Linked DNA regions of Homo sapiens: regions 1, 2, 4 and 5 are each linked to region 3. The links are contacts of gene promoters, found by promoter capture Hi-C in blood cells and fetal thymus (Javierre and others, 2016). All regions are on one chromosome and are shown on one strand. The core of a region is centred on a gene start or on the middle of the fragment in contact, and the rest is flanking DNA. Distances in the headings are between cores, read along the strand shown. Region 1 overlaps ARFIP2 (ARF interacting protein 2). Region 2 overlaps APBB1 (amyloid beta precursor protein binding family B member 1). Region 3 holds the start of RRM1 (ribonucleotide reductase catalytic subunit M1). Region 4 overlaps TPP1 (tripeptidyl peptidase 1). Region 5 has its middle 1.7 kb from the start of CNGA4.

Region 1 (2,700 bases), core at 117-2,616, 2.4 Mb after region 3:
GGTAAGTTCACAAGACTGGAACAGTCTGAGAGCTAGTGTGGCAAGCAGGGGAGGGGCTCTGATTAGGCTGAGCACGAAGGCATTCTCCCCAGTGCAGAGAGGGGTTATTTGTGAGGCACCTAGTGTGCCCCCTCCCCCACCCCCTCCAACTTCTGGACCTCTGTACAAACCCTTAGGCTGCCTCCACAGGTGAGTGCTGCTGGGGGTAGGGCTGGGCCCACCCTGAAGGGGTTCTCCCTGTGGGCTGCAGGAGGGAGGGAGGATGAGGAATGACTGCCTGGGAGGGCCCATGCCCAGTTCCCCCACCCTCTTTGGTCTGGGTGAGGCACCTGAAGCTCTGGGGACTTCTGGCTGAGGTCAGCAAAGGCATCACCCAGTGCATGCTGGGTCTGCAGCAGGCTGTAGAGGTGGGCTGTCAGTGCCCGGCCCAGCTGCAGGACACTCTCATACTTGCGCTTCGTCTCACGCAGCAACTCAATCTGCAGCTCTAGCTCCAGGTCCACAGTCCGTGAGCCTCGACCAAATCGTTCTGATAACAGTTGCTTTGTGCACTGATTGGGAAATGGGGGAATAAATCAGAGACCCTAACAGCCTCCCCACACAACAGGTATCTACCCCAGCACCCCCCAGGCTCCTACTCTCAGCCACAGATGGGATATTACGATCACGAAGAAAAGGGAAAAAGGTACCCATAAGGAGTTTTGGGGAAGGGAGAGGTGCTTAAATCCTACCTTATAGGTGTTGATGCCCCATTTCTTGACGATGTCAAACTTTTCTCCAGCAATGCCCCGAGCCACCTCATCTCCAGGGCCAGAAGGAGTGGTGCTGTGAGATGGATGGCGGCCAGACCCTAAAGGATCAAGTTCTCTGACACCAGCCTCTCTCAGATACACCAGACACCTCTGTGGCCCCACCCATACTTCTCTTCGAGCACATGAAATTGACTTCCCTGAAGGAGATGCTAGAGACAACTGGATGCTCCTGCTTACTAGGAGGAACTCGGACTTTGCGCGGTGAGAACCAAATCCTGATATACATATGGCCTCCTTGGGGGTTAGAGGAGGGGTTTGCAGGGAGTTGTTGGTGTACAGGGGCAGAGGAAACAGAAGAAAATACACTGAGTTTGGGGGCAGCAGGAGTCAAGGATGGTGGGTCATGATAACAAGAAACCTGGTTGCATTCCCATGTGGAATCTTAGTGTGAGATTCAGGGCTGTTTGTTCCTCTAAACTTTAGAATCTAAAAATTCTGAGAAGCTTCACAAAGTTCCAACTCAGCCTCAAGCTGTAGAGGGGGGGCATTCCTGTGAAGCAGGTCTTAACTTGACTCAGGTGGTGGCAGGGAAAGGACAAATGAGCCATTTCAGGGGCTAAGTGGCAAAAGGGAAATGGATGGACAACGCTGGGAGTTGCTTTTGGGCTGAGGAGAGTCCATGAGGTTCCTACAAGCAGAAGTTCCCAAGATCTCCAGACATAATTCAAGCTTTCCTAGACATATCCTATGCTTCCCCAAACCATTCCTGTCCCCTCCTCCACCCAAGATTCCTGTTTCTGAACATTCATACCTGTGGGGATGAGTCCATCACCAGAGCCCCCATAGCCACCAGACACAATGCTGGTTTCATTGAGGTTGGGTCCTGACACCATCACCTGCTGGAGGTCCTATAGGCCAGAGAAGAGGGGTTGCTTCAGGAACATAGGGGCTGCAGAAGCATTTTGGAGGTGGGAACAAGTTTGGATTCAAGCATCATAAAGATAGTACACAAGGGAAGTCTGCACAGAATCAAAATGATACGTAAAAAGAATGAAGGGAGTCAGATAAGTCAGGGGAAGGCTACTGGAATGGAGGGTGAGAACCTAGGATTTATAAATTGGATTCCTAAATTGAAACAATTAGAAGAATCAAACAGAAGCACCTGCTCCAGCCCATCATCTTCAGGAAGCTGCCTGGCTTCGCCGTTCCCGTGGATAGGGATCTCCATTGTGGCTGCCTTCCCTAGGATCCCGTCCGTCATGGCTAGGAAAGGTATTGGAGTAAAACTCTCCACCCCAGCACCCTGCAAAGCCCAACACAGAAGTTCTGGACACTGGCCAGCACTCTAGAAGAAGGAGGCCTCCTCTGTCATTTCTTTAAAGGCTGTCCCAGGGTTTGAGTGTCCCAGCGTTTGGCCATCATTCCTTTCTTCAGATATATGTATTTCTCCCCTCCAAAACGCACATTTGAAACAGGCACACCAAAGCACGGTGTCTTCTCACAAGCCCCCAACCTCACCAGGACTCTGGTGATTATTTCTACACTCATTCAGCAGACATTTAGTGAGTGCCTACTATGTGTCAGGCACTATTTGTGACAATGAAAATACAACAGTGAAGAGGGAAAGTCTGCTCTCTTAGAACTTATCTCCATGCAGGCGTGTTTATGCTGAGGAGATGAACCCTTTCCAGGGCTCAGGTCTTCACCCCCCTATTCAGGTTTGTTCTCCATTGCTTGGCCTTTCACATTCCTTTAGCGTTTCTTCCCCCTTCCTTCAGGGGGTCTCCCCTCCTCCGTCTCATACACCTCGTCTTCCTCGGGCCCTCCCCACCAGGCCTTAGTTAGATCAGTGGGTGTATGTTCCCAGTCTCTGGTAAAAGCCTCTCTCTCCCAGGATATCGGTGACCCTTCCACAGTCAGTTATGTCTCCCAGGTGTGTGAGTCCCCG
Region 2 (2,700 bases), core at 96-2,595, 2.3 Mb after region 3:
GTTTCCTTCTCCAGATGCTCCCAGCCCACAGCTGGTGCTGTAACACTAAACCCAGCTACAGGCTGCTGTCTGGTGTCCTCCAGTCATCTAACATCAGCCTCCCAATCCCACCAAAGCTTTTCCATGGGATGAAGGAGTGGGGTCTCCCTTTGTGCCTGGTTCAGCACCACTCACGTGGCTGATGCTCAGCGAAGGCGTGCTGACTGCTGCTATAGGCAGGACAGGAAATAGAGCTAGGACAGAAGTATGGGGAGGTGGGATGCATTTTAAAGGGTAGGGAGACACCAAGCATGAGGAAGGTCTGGTAGAAGAAGTATTGGAAGGCAGAGGGTAGGGGCAGAGTTTTAGGATCAAGGTAGCAGCCCCTGGGTATAGAAGGACACACATACCAACAGGTTTAGCAACAGGTACATTCCCCAGGTAATAGACTTGGAACTTCTGGACCAACTCATTCTTAGGCGCTGGGAATTCCACTATGGGAAAGAAGAGAAGGTTGATCATGGTGGCAGACCTTGCTCACCCGCAGCCCCACCAGCAGGGCATAAGCTGGACACTTGCCCAGCCGAGGCCCTACTTTCATCTCGTCCCCTGCCTCCCTTTAACCGGAGTCCCTCCACGTATTGGAGTATTCAGTCTTCATGTGTTCATTTTTCTATCAGCGCTGTCCAGGAGCTCATGCCTTTCCTTGGGTCACCCACCTTTGCCAACAAAGCTGAGCTGGACCTGGAGGGGTTTTGACACTGACCTTGGAAAGGGACATCCACAAGTTTAGAGTGGTCCAGGGAGAGTCCATTTACCAAGCAGCGGGCATTACGCCGTTCGGCCATGATCTGAGGAAGGAAGGGAGGCGAGGAGCCAGGGAGAATCTATTAGAGCCTCATTGCCCTGGGGCCCCCCTACAGCACTCAGTGACCCCACCCACACCCTTGTAGAGCAAAGGTGGCAACTAGTCCAGGGAGTGGAGGGGGCCGTGCCTTAGAGCAGATCTCATGCAGGCTGGTGGCGATGTTCTTGGCAGGTGCCTCACAGCGAAACACGTGGCACTTGAGCATCTGGGTCAGCTTATCACGAGCTACGTAGGCAAAGTCCCTGTTGGGGAAGGGGCACCTCAGTGTCTCCCAGTACCATCCAGTGCTGAGCCTGGTCCCCACCCCACCCACGTCCTCCCTGCCCATCACAGCTCCTCCAGGGCTTCTGCCCACAGCTGGTCCCCCATAGGTGCTGCCTTCTTGGGGGGGAGGGGTAGACAGGCAAGCATGCTGAGGTGGAGGGTAATGGTGGAGCATAGCGGGTGGGAAGGGGCAGGGCAGAAGAGGGGAGCTTGGGTGCTTCCAGGCATCTGGTCCAGGTGTAGGAGGGGGAAAATAGGCATAGTACCTCTCTCTGGGTCCAGCAGCACAAGAGAGGCAAATAACAGAGTTAGAGAGGAGGACTCTGATGCTGGATGAACTCCCACCCTCGAATCCCAAGCCCTATTCCCACCTTCCACTGTCCCGCCCGACGCCCCACACGCGGATGCTGATGATGGGTTGGGCGTGCAGCAGTGCCTGGCTCTGTGGCTCCACTAGCTTTAGTGTCTCATCCTCCAGCTGCAGTAGCAGATCCTTTCCCTGCAGGACCAGAAGCAGGCACTCAGTGGGACTCCAGCCAGGATGGTGGCTGATCTCTGACCCCTGCAGCTCAGGGGATGTTAGCCACAGCTCTGGGGCCCCTGCTTTGGTGTCAGACCGCCCGCCCTGCAGGCCTCACTCTAGTGGAGGTCACGTGTCATCTCTCACATTGACTCCACCGTTGTTAGGCGACTATCTCCCAAGGTCCTGGCCTGGGGTCGCTCATCCATCCCACAGGGCTGCCACTTAGGATGGGCCAATATCCCCCTTCCCCAGCCTGCTTGTGGGCAGGTCAGACCTCCCATCTCTCATAATTCCCTTCACACTCTCACAGTACCACCCCCTACCCCCGGCTCAGGTCCTTACTTCCCCCCAGCCCCCAGACATGGGGTCATGCAGGTTGTTTTTGTGGTAAGAGAGCTGACGGATGCAATTGTTGACTGCCACACTGCTGCGTCCAGGGGCCAGCTCCTCCTCGGTCATCTCTACCCAGCCTAGGGAGCGCACGGCGAAACACTGCCAGACACAGAAGAGGGGCAGGAGGTAGAGGATCTGAGTCAAAACTGGAGAGTTCCTGACTACAGAGTGTGGCAGGAGGCAGGGTGTTCTGAACTAAGACGGAGAAGCTCCCCAAACAGGATGTGGTTAGGGAGAGGGGGATGTGGTTAGGGTGAGGGAGATGTCAGATGAGACCCCAGCTAGTACAAAAAAGCACCTGAACTAAGACTACAAGGGCCCCCAACCTGGCTGTTGGGCTGGTTGATTTAAAAACTGAAGTGCCTCCAGCTCAGACACAGGGCTCTGTGCTGAGACTGGAAGAACTCCTAACTCAGGACCTGGGGAACTGCGCTGAGACCCCTCAGAGCACAACATTAGGGGCTGTCTGACAAATAAGAGGGCCCCAGACTCAGAATGGGTGTCAGTCTTGAACAAACCTTGATCCCTGGGTTGGTATTCCGTGGGGGAAGCTTCTCCTCCTCTTGGGGCAACGGCTCTGGGCTGAAGGCAGATGGTAATACTTGGCACAGGGCTCCCATAAATGGAGCTGTCCCAAGGCCCCTTCCAGACAGATCCATCCCACTGCCAGCTC
Region 3 (2,700 bases), core at 164-2,663:
TTAAAGTATAATTTTCTCTCATGCAGTATCTGGGACACATTTTTATTTGCTAAATTGGGAAACCCTATGTCTGGGTAAACTTGACCCTATCTATCCTATAACTTCACTTACGACTTTTAAAAAACATATCTATTTAATTTTTCTTTCTTTTTTTTTGTTTTTTTTGAGACGGCGTCTCACTCTCTTGCCTAGGCTAGGGTGCAATGGCGCGATCTTGGCTCACTGCAACCTCTGCCTCCAGCGTTCAAGCGATTCTTCTGCCTCAGCCTCCTGAGTAGCTGGGATTACAGGCGCGTGCTACCATGCCTGGCTACTTTTTGTATTTTTAGCAGCGGGGGGGTTTCACCACGTTGGTTAGGCTGGTCTCGAACTCCTGACCTCGTGATCTGCCCGCCTTGGCCTCCCATAGTGCTGGGATTACAGGAGTGAAGCACCGCGCTGGCCTACTTTTTCTATTTTTTGTAGAAATGGGGTCTCACTATGTTGCCCAGGCTTATCTCAACACCTGGCCTCACATGATGCTCCCGCCTTAGCCTCCCAAAATGCTGCAATTACAGGCTCACTTACGACTTTCCATGATTTTTGAAATTACTTCACAGGGAGCCTGGGCAGCTTCTGGAGGGCAGTGAGAAACCAACGAAAAGGCTTTAGGGAAAAGATGCCACAGATGAAATTTCATAAAGATCGCTTTGGGTAGCCCAAATCAGAAGCTTCTACACCAGCCTTACATATTACGGTTCTCATCTATTCTTATTCTCCACTCTAAGTCACCAAGTCCATCCTACCTCCACAAGGCAAATACCCTGTCTCTGCCACCATCCACTGAAGAACCCTAAAAGCAAATGGGTACTGACCCTGCCCTGCTTAAAATTCTCTCAGGGCTCTGATTTGCGTCAGGATAAAATCCAAACGCCATCGGCCTTGCGCGGTTTTCTTCCAGTTCCAGAGTGTCAGTCCTCTGGCCGATCTAAAAGCCCTGGGGCTCCAAGCTGCCCACGGCTGTGGAGCCTGGGCTGGAGCCCACAGCGGACGGCAGTGTTAGTATTATTATAATAAATGTCAGAGCAAGAAAAACGTTCCCGCCGGTTAGGTTTTGTTATTTCAAAAATAAATTAACCGCCTTTCCTCCGGCGGAGACGCGCAGGTGAGAGGGCGGCGCCTGACCCAGCGGGCTCTAGGTGCTACGCCAGGGCCCCGAGGGTCCCGAACTCGGCTTGCCCACACAAAACATGGTAGCAGGAGAGCAGCATTTCCGCCGGGCATGTCCATATCCAATGGGGCCCATGGGAGAGGCGTAGTCTTCTGGGTCTTGCCCAGACTCAACATGGCGGCTACACGTCGCCTGTCAGTCTGTGAAGCCTACCCCGGGCGTGGGCCGCAGCGTCGAGTAACGTCATTCGAACCCCGTCGCGCCCCTTTGTGCGTCACGGGTGGCGGGCGCGGGAAGGGGATTTGGATTGTTGCGCCTCTGCTCTGAAGAAAGTGCTGTCTGGCTCCAACTCCAGTTCTTTCCCCTGAGCAGCGCCTGGAACCTAACCCTTCCCACTCTGTCACCTTCTCGATCCCGCCGGCGCTTTAGAGCCGCAGTCCAGTCTTGGATCCTTCAGAGCCTCAGCCACTAGCTGCGATGCATGTGATCAAGCGAGGTGAGGGGGGGACGAGGTGGGCGAGAAGGAAGGTGAGGGGATGCGGGCTGCCGCCGCCGGAGCTGATGCCCAGACCGCCCGCCCGCCTTCGCTGCTTCCCGCCTTTCCCGCATTTCCCGCCGCGGCCTTCCGCCCTGTCAGCCCGCTCGGCCTTCTGTCTTCAGTCAGCCTGCCCCGAACCTCCTTCGGGCCTTCAGGCTGCGCCCCCTCGGCTTTGTCATCCTGCCGCCTTTCAAAAGGATAACACTTACCCCGTATCGAGTAGTGACTGCGTACGCCGAGCACTTGCCAGGCACTATTTTATTCCTCCCTGCAAGCCTCTGAGAGATGATTAGCTTATTACAGATGAGGAAACTGACGCTCAGAGCGAGGTGTCGCCGACTGACCCAAAGTCACCCATAGGTGACAATACGGTTTGATTTGAAAACCGTGGGGTTGGTGAGCTGTCTTAGGCACAGGGTCGGGGGGCAGCTAGGAAAGAAGGAGGGGGCCTCTCTACCCTCCGTAGGCACTTGTCAGTTTACTGATCTCTTTTGTGGGGTGAGGATAGGAGTGTGGCGTGGAAAAAACAGATCCCAGACAGACAGCACCCTCGAGTTCCTTTCCCTTCATGGGAAGAGATGCTGAATCAGAGAAGGGTGGCTGAGACATCTTCTGACAAGATGGGGACTGGGAAGAGTCAGGAACTCGTATTCTTTCTCAACAGTTCTTTTTCATTAGACTTGCCAAGTGCCCGCTTTGTGCCCAGCCCTTTGCTTGGCTTTGTGAGATTGTAGGAGGAGACAGTCCCTGCCTTGGGAACAGGCTTCATCGGGTTGGAAAAACAAGAGCAACATACTTTTAACAACCGCATGAGATACGTATGAACAAGTTTTGAGTTGAACCTACTTGCCTTTGTTAAAGCAATACAATGATTTCAAAATTGTAGGCACTTAGTAAATACTGGTTAATCGACTGGTTGTTTCTATTTTGTCCTCTAGGCTGTGAACATTTCAAAGATGGAGACTTGTTTGAGACAGAGTCTTGCTCTGTCACCCAGGATGGAATGCAGTGG
Region 4 (2,500 bases), core at 1-2,500, 2.5 Mb after region 3:
CTGAACTGAGTCTTGCAAGAATTCTGGAAATTAACCTGGCAGTTGTATCAGGGGTGGTAAGGGGACGGAACAGCTTGAGCAAGAGTGAGAGTTCCTTGGGGTTTGGGGAGGGAGGAGGAAAAATGATTTTTTACTTAAGAACAAATAGCAAGGAAGGTTTGTGAGCTATGATTGGGGGCTGGAGGGGAAAGCCTGAATTCTATCCAGTAATCCTTGAAGGGTTTTCATCCAAGTGGCCTGATGGGATTTGCATTTTACTCTGGAAGATGACTTGGGGATTGGCAGGAAGTAAGGACACTTTTTTTCAAGAGAATATAGCCCTAAACTAAGGTAGTAGCAGTGGGGATATAAGTGGATAAGTTCTAGATATACTTGGGAAATATAATTGGAAGGACTTGTGGACTGATAAAGATATATTTAAGATGTGCAGTCAGTAGGACTTGTTGATTGAGGACTTGTTGATTGAAGGTGGGGTGAAAAGATGACACAGGTTTCTGGCTTGGTTGGAAAAAGCATAGCATCATTTACCAAGAAGAAACGAGATGGAATTGTTTGGGGTTGGGAAGGTGGACGATGAAATGTTGAGTATCACGCATCTTACATTTGAGGTATCAATCATTATTGGATAGAAAGTCTTATTTAGTGAGATGGTAATGGTTGTAGATGTCAGTGATTTGTTCCAGGGGACAATGAGTAAACTGAGAAGAGCAAAAATCTACAAATGGAGCAATGAAGGTCAGCATTCCATGAAGAAGCAGAAATTGATGAGAGAGGAAGACAAGAGTAGTCAGAGAAGTTAAGACCTGGAAGCTAAGTAAGGAGAGGGAGTGGGCAACTATGATGGAAAGGCCATAAAGCAAAGATTGAGAAGTATGCACTGGAGGCCATTGTTTCTGGATGTCAGGGTAGGAAAGAGTAAACGGTGACAGTAGAGGTCTCCTTGCAGTGAATTGGGGAATGAATATCAAGTGAAATAGTGCACAGAGTCTGTATACAACCCTTTGGAAAAGCCTGATTGAAAAGAGAAAGATGAGATGCGGAGGGAGAGGCATTCAAAAAATGCTAGTTACAGCATCTTATTGAGGAATCTAAGGCAGGAGTAGGGAGACCTGAGTATGATGGAGCATGGTAGGGTTGGGAGTCAAGTCAAGCTCACAGCATTTCAGGGTTAGGGAGATAAGCTGTCTGCAGCAGTCAATAGTTGAGGGTTCAGCAGGGCTTCCAACAGGGCAGAATAAGGGACTGAACTGCCAGCTTCAGGGCAGGGGACAAGCCATCTCTCCTGATAGGAAAGGGTCAGGGGTTGAGTAGAGTCTTCAGCAAAGCTGGGAAGTTGGGTGTTCCCCAGCCTGTTACAGGATCCCAGCCAGGACCAGAGCAGAAACCCTGGCCCTCTACCTCTTCATCCAGACAGGACTCATGGCAGCCACGGGTTACCTAGGGAGGAGGCTGGCATCAGATCTGGGCCTACTAGTACCAGTACTTAAAGAGTATATCTCCTCACCCTGTACTCACATTTCAAAGGCTATTCCACACCACCCTAACTGCCCCCAAGTCCCCCTTAGCACTCCCCATAGTTGTTTGAAAACGTCCACACCCTTCCCTTCCATACTTACATCAAAGAGTCCTGCCCCATGCTGCTGGTAGAGCCTTGGGTTGAGAAAGCCAAGAGGGGGGCGGCCACTAAGGATCCTGTGCTCATTGATCAAGGATAGGATCCCCCCAAACACTGGAGTAGAGGCCTACAAGAGTGAAGGTGCAAGTAGAGGTCAGGGGTTCTGAGTGATTGGACTTTTTGGGAGTGATGCTTTAAAGTATCAGACATCTCTAAGGAGTCAGGGGTTCTAGGTGCAAGGTGTTCAAGGTGTTAGGGGGTAAGGGTAGTTCCTGAGTGAGAGTTTGGAGATGGGCTGATTCTCACCGAGGTTCCGGACACCCATGGAATGGGCACTCTGTTGCTGACCACCCAGTAGCCATCAGAAAGTGCAGCCACATCTGGGTAGGCACGGCCACTGGCATTGAAGTAACTGGATGGTGGCAGGTGGGGGCTAGAGCTCAGGAACTTCGTTACAGCTTCCTCCTGAAAGGCATTTTTGAGTGAGTATTGGCATGTGGCCTGCCCAGCAGTCAGCTGAACTGAGGATCCCCCATCCTCACTCTTACCCTGCATCCATCCACACAAACACACGTACCTGGTATGAAGGCCGTGGGAACACATTGCTGAAGCCACCACCACTGATATAGTCAACAATTTCATTTGTGATGAGGAAAGGTTCCTGGAAGGATGTGCCTCCCACTGTGGTGACATAGGGGCTGAGGGGAGAAGACAGCATTTGGATAGTAGGGGACCCAAGGGGACCTCCAAGATATGTGGGGAGGGGTGAGTATAGCCCAGGTCTTGCTGGAGGAACTAGACTCTGTGGGGAAGCATGTATATGGGATTGACTAAGAGATTTTGAGCCTTCAAGGCATGGCCCGAGGTGACTGTGCACACTTTTCT
Region 5 (2,700 bases), core at 151-2,650, 2.1 Mb after region 3:
TTTATCATTGTGCTATAGTTATGTAAGATCATAACGTTAGGGGAAGATGGATAAGGAATTTATGAGAACTCTGTATTATTTTTGCAACTTTTCTGTAAGCCTAAAATTAGTTCAAATAAAAAGTATTTAAAAAGAAATAGAAGTTTCAGACCAAAGGATCAGCATATACCAGGGAAAGGAAGAATGGACAGCATGTGGGAGGTGCTGTAAGAACTGCAATCAGTACAGTGTGTCGGGAGCCTAGGGAACATGTGAGGAAACATTGTGAGATGAGGCTGAAGACATGGACTGGAGAACTTTATAAACCATGTTAAGGAATTTAGATTTTATTTTTGGGATGATAGCTATAAAGAATTTTATACATAGATTGATAGTTATACAGTAACTTTGCAAAAGACCAAACAAGCTGATAAGGCCCAAACTAGAGTAGCAAAAATGCAGAGAAGTGGACATGTGGATTTTTAGAAGGTAGATCACCATGGTTTGATGATTGGGTGGATATAAGAGGAAAATAAGAGGAAGAATTAAAAACTAATGCTTAGTTTATATAAATTCAAAAACAGGTAAAACTAAACTGTGATATTAGAATTCAGGATAGTGATTATTCTTGGAAAAACATTGACTGAAAGGGGCAGAGTGGGGCTCCTGAGGCACTGGTGATGTTCTGTTTCTTGATCTGAGTGCTTGGTTATATGGGTGTGTTCACTTTGTGAAAATGTATTAAGCTATATACTTAAGGATTGTACACCTTTCTCTGTGTTTGTTTGTTCTGGTTACTATGCTATGTGACAAACCAACCCAAACTTAGTGTCATAAAAACAATAGCCATTTTATTATGTGCACAAATTCTGGGAATTTGGACGAGATGCAACAGGAATGGCTTGTCTCTATTCCATGATGTCTGGGGCCTTATTTGTAAAGCTTGAACATCTAGAGGTGGTTTGAGGCTGGTGGCTGGAAGCATCTGGAGGCTTCTTCAGTCACACATCTAATTCCTGGGCTGGGATAATGAAAAAGCTGAACTCATTGGGCAAACTGTCAAACAGAACTTCTCACAATGTGATGGGTAGGTTCCAAGAGGGAACATTCTGAGAGGGAGCTACCAGACAACACGCATTCCAAGAGAACCAGAGGGAAGCTGCATGGCCTTTTATGATCTAGCCTTAGAAGTCACACAACATCACTCCTGCTATACAAACTATCACAAGGGAGTGGTGTCGAAGAATTTGTGACCATTTTTTTTAACTGCCACAACATTATACAGTAAATAGTAATAAATGCTTGTCATAGGTTTTTTTGCTGAAAGGGCATAGATAGGAATTCTAGAAGAAAAAGTGGAGGAAGATAATGAGCTTAGTTATAGACCCAATGGGTTGAAGGTGACCGCGGGATACCCAAGTAGGAACATCCAGTGAGCAGTTAGTCATATAGATAACTGAAACTCAGGGAGAGTTCTCGGGAGCCACTATATGAGAAAGGAAGTCCTGTGGGTGACTGACGTCAATCAGACAGAGTTAGGAGGATGGCAAAAGTAGAAAGCCTAGAACAGAATCCAAGAAAAAAAAAAAACACCATCATAGAAGGAATAGACAGAGGAGCTTATGAAAGACACTAAAAAGAAACAGCAAACCAAGACATTATGGCATTACAAAGGATTTTATTCATTTTGTTGCATTACTTTGAATGTTGTCTTTTTATTTTAACAAGCGTAATACTTTGCAAAAAGAAATTAAGAAGCCATGGGAAAAGAGAGTTTTTCAAAATTTAATTAGGGACCACAGGTTTTTCTTCTAAAACACACTCCAAAAACACAAACCTGATTTTATCACTGAACTGTGAAAAACTCTTCACAGGTTCTCTATTGCCGTTGGGTAAAATCCAAGCTTTATAACATGGCTGACAGAACTCCTCCTGAGCTGGCCTCTGTCTATCATTCAACCTCATCTCTCACCACTACCCGCTAGGCCCTCTAAAATAAGCCAATTGATATTTGCCCAGTCACCCACGCTTTTTGATATCTCTATGCCTTTGCCCACTCTGTGCATTCTGCCTCTAGTGCTCTTCACCCTCCCATCTCTGTACCCAACTCCTATTCATCCTGCAGAACCCAGGCTCTGTAGGGCCACTTCATGTGTACTATAATAGCCTTCCGTGTATCCAGCTAACAGAGTACTCATCAGCAGCCTGGCAATGACTGCTGCTGTTTAGTTACCTCATGTGTAATTACCTGCTGGCCTGACTATTTCACCTAGCAGACTGTGAGCTTCTGGAGAAGGGGGAGCGTGTCTTATTCATCTCCAATTCCTAGTATTTAGCACAATATTGGCCTGGCACACAGAACACCTGCCTATGGGTGTTCTGATTTTGATTTGTTGACTGAGAAAGATGATAGCAGTGAAAGGAACATCAGGTTGAGGGAGAAATTGTAGGGTTTTTGTTTGTTTTGATATAGGAGATATTGAAGCAGGTTCACAAAAAGAGAAAAGTTGAAAGATTGGGGACCATAAAACACATGGAATGGTTGGTAGGATCAGGCACTAGAAGTCACAAGAAGGATATGAGGACAAAAGCACCATAGGATGGCCCCTATCACACTACCTATGAGAATGGTGTGATGGGGGAAGGCGTATGTGGAGGTAGATAAGGGTAGGAAGTAGGTTACAAAAATAGAGCTCACTTCTCATGTGAGAGGCATCTCTT

What was found. The method cuts DNA at HindIII sites, captures the fragments that hold promoters and counts their contacts. A CHiCAGO score of 5 or more calls a contact.
Region 1: a contact is called between a fragment that was not itself captured here and the fragment with the promoter of RRM1 in region 3, in 4 of 17 cell types (M0 macrophages, total B cells, total CD4 T cells and 1 more). The highest score is 7.8, in M0 macrophages.
Region 2: a contact is called between a fragment that was not itself captured here and the fragment with the promoter of RRM1 in region 3, in 2 of 17 cell types (non-activated CD4 T cells and total CD8 T cells). The highest score is 6.7, in non-activated CD4 T cells.
Region 4: a fragment that was not itself captured here is called in contact with the fragment with the promoter of RRM1 in region 3 in 1 of 17 cell types (naive CD8 T cells); the score reaches 5.5 in naive CD8 T cells.
Region 5: a contact is called between a fragment that was not itself captured here and the fragment with the promoter of RRM1 in region 3, in 3 of 17 cell types (M0 macrophages, M2 macrophages and naive CD8 T cells). The highest score is 5.7, in M0 macrophages.

What each region holds. Positions count from the first base shown.
Region 1 is chr11:6,478,409-6,481,108 of GRCh38, forward strand. ARFIP2 (ARF interacting protein 2) reads right to left here. Exons shown (of 8, transcript NM_001376558.2): 2 at 1,915-2,055; 3 at 1,564-1,660; 4 at 732-850; 5 at 330-551. The coding sequence starts at 2,013. Among named protein-coding and RNA genes, the nearest start is that of ARFIP2, 1.6 kb to the right of the region's middle. RefSeq lists enhancers at 2,516-2,700, 2,552-2,671. The HindIII fragment of the contact is 226 bases long and covers 1,254-1,479 here.
Region 2 is chr11:6,400,600-6,403,299 of GRCh38, forward strand. It overlaps APBB1 (amyloid beta precursor protein binding family B member 1), which reads right to left. Exons shown (of 15, transcript NM_001164.5): 6 at 2,546-2,609; 7 at 1,977-2,126; 8 at 1,483-1,610; 9 at 1,378-1,383; 10 at 975-1,089; 11 at 746-830; 12 at 390-473. Among named protein-coding and RNA genes, the nearest start is that of SMPD1, 11 kb to the left of the region's middle. The HindIII fragment of the contact is 2,462 bases long and covers 115-2,576 here.
Region 3 is chr11:4,093,386-4,096,085 of GRCh38, forward strand. RRM1 (ribonucleotide reductase catalytic subunit M1) reads left to right here and starts at 1,414. Exons shown (of 19, transcript NM_001033.5): 1 at 1,414-1,646. The coding sequence starts at 1,628. RefSeq lists enhancers at 1,044-1,113, 1,174-1,643. The HindIII fragment of the contact is 7,950 bases long and covers 709-2,700 here.
Region 4 is chr11:6,613,250-6,615,749 of GRCh38, forward strand. It overlaps TPP1 (tripeptidyl peptidase 1), which reads right to left. Exons shown (of 13, transcript NM_000391.4): 10 at 2,193-2,313; 11 at 1,922-2,080; 12 at 1,617-1,742; 13 at 1-1,437. The coding sequence ends at 1,297. Among named protein-coding and RNA genes, the nearest start is that of TAF10, 2.3 kb to the left of the region's middle. The HindIII fragment of the contact is 2,784 bases long and covers 1-2,500 here.
Region 5 is chr11:6,235,998-6,238,697 of GRCh38, forward strand. It overlaps a transcript of CNGA4 not described here. Among named protein-coding and RNA genes, the nearest start is that of CNGA4, 1.7 kb to the right of the region's middle. The HindIII fragment of the contact is 962 bases long and covers 920-1,881 here.